Regions from separate parts of the Homo sapiens genome. Here region 2 is linked to region 1. The links are contacts of gene promoters, found by promoter capture Hi-C in human tissues and cell types (Jung and others, 2019). All regions are on one chromosome and are shown on one strand. Each heading gives the region's core, a stretch centred on a gene start or on the middle of the fragment in contact. The rest is flanking DNA. Distances are from core to core; before and after follow the strand shown.

Evidence for each region. The method cuts DNA at HindIII sites, captures the fragments that hold promoters and counts their contacts. A contact is called where the count stands out against the background at its distance.
Region 2: a contact is called between a fragment that was not itself captured here and the fragment with the promoter of PAIP1 in region 1, in 1 of the 25 tissues and cell types used here (lymphoblastoid cells).

Annotation. Positions count from the first base shown.
Region 1 is chr5:43,555,745-43,558,444 of GRCh38, forward strand. It overlaps PAIP1 (poly(A) binding protein interacting protein 1), which reads right to left and starts at 1,333. Exons shown (of 11, transcript NM_006451.5): 1 at 838-1,333; 2 at 86-255. The coding sequence starts at 1,102. RefSeq lists a silencer at 769-1,628. The HindIII fragment of the contact is 2,914 bases long and covers 890-2,700 here.
Region 2 is chr5:43,080,780-43,083,479 of GRCh38, forward strand. The region is part of intron 2 of LOC100506639 (a long non-coding RNA gene); the gene reads left to right. Among named protein-coding and RNA genes, the nearest start is that of ANXA2R-OT1, 15 kb to the left of the region's middle. The HindIII fragment of the contact is 3,027 bases long and covers 1-2,700 here.

The DNA.
Region 1 (2,700 bases), core at 83-2,582:
GCACAAACATACTCTGATTAACAAAGTAACAACCACATTATTCCAGTAAATTAACCCAGAGTTGTAGGAAAAAGGGTGTACTTACTGTGTAACTGGAAGAATAACCTGAAGGGTAAAATTCAGGGGCATTCACAGACAGCTTAGACATTAATACAGGAGCTACAACCACCTGGGGCTTAGCCATTGCTGACTCCGAGTTCTGCTGTGGGATTTTATCCTGTGAACTAGGTGGAGCTCTCAGGGGCCTCGTTTGCTCTGCAAAAGAAAAAAAAACGGGGCGTCAGATGCATTCTTTCCTTTGTACAGCAACTTGCTATATACTGAAAAACCATCTGAAAAGCGTCTGTTTTTAAGAGTTAAACAGGAACCATCATGAAATTTATGGTTATCGCCGGAATGTGTACAGACAGCCTACAAAAAGGAACAATAGACTTGCTGTGACTCCGTTATGGGCATACCTGCCTCTCAAATGAGTGCTTGCGAGCTTTTTTCCTCTCTGTCGTTTTAAAGGGGTCGGTGGAAAAGAGGTGGTTACTCGCTAGGGTCTCGCTTTAGAGGGCTGCTGAGGGGAGGCGATTTTTACTTCCTCCCGGGACCCCGAACTCCGAGACCGCGCACCCGGCCCCTCCCCCCAGCCAGGCGCACAAAGGATTCCAGCAGACACCTTCCAAACCCGGTTCCGGGCCCGTCCCTACCCGGTCACGCGGCCCTCTCGGGGAATGCTTTCGGGGAACCGGGGGTGGGGACCGCAGACAGCGCGTCGGGCCTCGGCACGCGTGGAGGGCCGTGGGGAAGCGTTCGCCAAGGAGGACTGGGGCCCTTAGAGCTGCTCCGTACCTGGGAGCGCCCCGGGCCGGGAAGGCCGCTGGGGGCTGGCGGGGACCTCGCACTGGGCCCCTGGCGGCGGGGTCGTCCTGGGCTGGCGCAGCGGCGGTGGCTGCAGGAAGCCCGGGGCTTTGGGTTGCGGCGGCTGGTGCCGCGCCCGCTCAGCAGGCCCCGCTCCGTTCGGGAAACCGCCGCCCTCAGGCCCGCCCCCTCCGCGGCCCAGGCCCCGGCTCCGGCCCCGACCAGCACCTGGGGCCCGATCGAAACCGTCCGACATGCTCCTCCTCCTCCGCCTCCTCCTCCAGGGGCCGCTGCCGCTGCGCTCGCGATAGGACGCGGGGGGAAGGCGCCGCGGGTCGGCTATAGCCGCCGCGCCTCACTCGGGCCTCATGGAGGAGGAGGGCGGCGGGCCCCGGCTCGGCTGCTCGGTGCTTCTGGCGGAGCGGACGGCAGCCCGAGCACCCGCCGCTCCAGAGCGCCCGCCCCGCTCGGCTACCCTCGGCTTTCCAGTTCTCCCCCAAAACCCGGCTCCCCGCCTTCGGCGCGGCAGGGGCGCAGGCGGGTCACAGCGGCCCCCTGCGGCCCGGAGGCCCGGGACGCGCCCGCGAGGATCCTCCAGTTCGCGGCTGGCCGGCCGCCGGGCCCAGCAGGCCGCCCGCCGAGTGGCGTCTTGGCCACCTGCCGGCCCGCAGCCAGGCTCGGGCAGGGGCATCTCGGTTCCGGGGCCAGGCTGGGGGGGATGAGGGATGAGGGGTGAGGGGGACGCTTACCACAGGCAGGCCCGACCTACTCGGTAGTTCTCAGGAGAGACGTGCGAGACCGACAGTTGACGCCCGGGAAATAAAAACACGGGGGGAGGGGGCGTGGACCCTGCGCCAGGGTTCGCTGGCGCACAGGTGTGTTCAATGACTCGGCTCCGGCCGAGACCCGCGGACTGCTGAGGAGTGGTCCCTGGGAGACTGTCACCTGCTCCGTTAGCATCGGGGGAAGGGAGTAGAAACGGAATCAAAATATGTGTCCCCTCTTTAATTCACCCTAGGTGTTTACCACAGTAGGTCACACCTACGTTTAACAAGCTTCGTTCTCTTCCCGTTAACCTTCCCCTCCAGAAATTTCAAGAAAATGTGCTACCTTTCAGTGTAACTCTGCCCTCTTTTTCATCTTGCATCAGTGCTGTCCAATGAAAATATAATGCGAGCCACAAATGCAAGCCACTTATGTAATTTTACATTTTGGAGAAGCCACATTAAATGAGTGAAAAGAAACAGGTGTGGCCAGGCGCAGTGGCTCACGCCTGTAATCCCAGCACTTTGGGAGGCCGAGGGGGGCGGATCACCTGAGGTCGGGAGTTCGAGACCAGCCAGACCAACATGGAGAAACCCCGTCTCTACTAAAAATACAAAGTTAGCCGGGCGTGGTGGCACATGCCTGTAATCCTAGCTATTCTGGAGGCTGAGGCAGGAGAATCGCTTGAACGCAGGAGGCAGAGGTTGCAGTGAGCCGAGATCGTACCGTTGCACTCCAGCCTGGGCAACAAGAGCCAAACTCTGTCTCAAAAAACAAAACAAAACAAAACAAAAACCAGGTGAAATTAATTTAAATTTATTTAATCCATTATGTTCAAAATGGTTTTTTAACATGCGATTTAAAATATTAAATATTTTCTCTGTTTTTTAGATACTAGTTGAAATCCAGTGTATATTTTACACTTATGGCACATCTTAGTCGGGATTGGCACATTTCAAGGGCTCAAGAGCCACATGTGGCTAGTGGCTACTGCGTTGCACAGCACAATTCTAGATTTTATTAATATGTAAATTGTTGTTTTTGTCAGGCCTGACAGTATTAATGCCAAATAAAGGATAGATGAATATA
Region 2 (2,700 bases), core at 74-2,573, 470 kb before region 1:
CCATATGAATTTGTATGAAAATGATTTTTTAAAGTGCTATATCAAGAAAACTAGAACATAATGCAGAACAAATAAAATTTACTTATATGGGTGCCAAGAATAGAAATTCTGGGTTCCGCATACATCAGCATCTAGAAGAATCTGCAGTAGGTATGGATGGTTGATTGAGGCCTTTATTCAATGGTAGTCTACAAAGAATAAGACAGAAGTAAGAACTTTCCTGTTAAAATGGAAAGATAGAGTAAACAAGTTTAGGAATATCTCATAAGCCACTGATTCCATTCTTAGGTCTATATCCAAGGGAAATTCTTGCACATGCACACAAGGAAACATGGAAGAGAATGTCCATATATGTACTGTTCACAGTAACAAAAATTTGCTGAGGAGGAAGGAACTAAAACTCCAACAATAGGAGAGCGGATAGAAAGGAACATATTATATTCACAGAACGGAATATTTTACAAAAATCAGAATAAACTACAACATTACTCAAAATCATGGCTGCATTATAGCAACATAATATTCAGAGAAAAAGTTTAAAAGACTACATAGAACTGTCAATTGAGGAAAATGACAAGATAAGTCTCAATCATTTTAGGAGGTTTATTTGCCAAAGTTAAGGACATGCCTGGGAGACAGGTCTATGCCTTTCTCTGATGATGATTTTGAGGGCTCCAAATTTAAAGGGGAAAGGGCAGGATATTGAGAAGCGCACAGTTTTCACATAAACCAAAGGGGCAGAGGAAAAATATGGGGAATCTGCATTTTACATAAGATAACAGACAAAATGGGGTAGAGGGAACAATCAGATATGCATTTGTGTCTGGCGAGCAGGGTGACTGCACATGTAAAGATAAGCTATCAATTTGCATTGCCATGGTGAAGTTTTAACAGCTCACCAGGAATTTCCCTGTGGGCAAAATATGGGAGAGGCATGTAGCTTTTCATCTTGTAGCCATCTTATTTAGGAATCAAAAGCGGGAGGCAGGTTTGTGTGACCCAGTTCCCAGCTTAACTTTTCCCTTTGGCTAAATGAGTTTGGGGTCCCAAAGTTTAATTTCCCTTCACAGAACACAGTTTTATTTTATAAAATTAACAAAAACACACAATATGTAGATACATATTGATAAAAATAAAACTATGTAAAAAGGTAAACAACAGAATATTCAATTTAGTAATAAAATAACCAACTGTGGATGGTTATCTTGAATTGAAGGGTTGGAAATAAGGGATACAGGAAAATCACACACAATAAACTAAATTGGAAGATGGGCCTAATGCTAACACCAAAAATGGACCTCTTGACGGCAGAATTGCATTTATCTATCCAGCCTCAGGAAGAGTTACACAACCTCAAGTTTCCTCAAGTGAGGCTGTGTGTCTATGAAATGTGGGGCATGGAGAAGCAAGCATAGCACAGTTTTCCAGGAGGCGCTGGCTTAATAAAAGAGGGTGGAATGTGAGGGGCCAAACTTTTCATGTGTAGATCCCCTCTCAAACTCTACAACCAGATAATTCATTAGTTTAGTGGTGAGAACTAAAAGATGAGACATGAAACTAAAGTTATTCAGGTATAATTGTACCTTATAGAAACTGGACAAGGGGGATGCCACTTTTCCCACTTATACAATCATTCAGTGTATTGAACTACCCTGTGAAAAGATAAGTACAATTGCATTAATAGATTAAGTAAACTACAACAAGGTATGGGGTCACACACCTGTAGTCCCAGCTACTCAGGAGGCTGAGACAGGAGGATTGGTTGAGCTCAGGAGTTAAAGGCTGTAATGAGTTATAATCATGCCACTGCACTCCAGTATGCGTGACAGAGTAATACTTCATCTCTTGAAAAATAAAGAGAGAAAAGAGAGAAAGAAATTATAGCTTCAAACTCTATGCTATTTTGAAGACATAAAGTAAAATGATAAAAAGAGTTGAAAATAAAGGAGTGGACAAAGATACATCTGAATCTAATCAATTTTTTGAACTTTTATTTTAGGTTCAGGGGTACATTGGGTATATTTTAGGTTCAGGTGGGTGGAGGGATGTCCTTTAGTTCTGTCCTTTGTCCAGTACCCATGAAGATAAGCTGTTAATTTACATTGTTAGGGTGAAATTCAACAGAACTATTTTAGGGTACAGATATCAAGGTCCACAAGAAATTTCCTTGTGAGCAAACTGAAGATGGTATATAGCCTTTTGTCTTTGTAGCTCTCTATTTAGAGGAAAAAATAAGAGGCCATTTTATGTGACTTGGGTCCAAGCTTGACTTTTCCCTTCAACTTAGGGAATTTGGGGTCCTAGTATTTTTATTTGCCCTTCCTAGCTGTTATATGTAAGTTGCTCTGGTGATTTTTCCTGAAGTTTATATTGCCTAACTTCAGTTGGCAGGGCTTTAAGAAAAAGCACAATTTTAATCTTTAGTGAGTCTAACCAAGAAAAATGGAAACATCAGTTCAGAGACTTGTAGAGACAAAAATATTTAGTATTTGGTCTAAATTGTAGCCAAATAACAAAAACTCAAAAACAATGGGCAGGGCTAGAGTCTAATAACAGGTGTACTATAGTGTTTTTTCTGAAATGCAATTTTTCTTTCTTTTTTTTTTTTTTGAGATGGAGTCTTGCTCTGTTGCCCAGGCTGGAGTGCAGTGGCACTATCTCGGCTCACTGCAAGCTCTGCCTCCTGGGTTCACACCATTC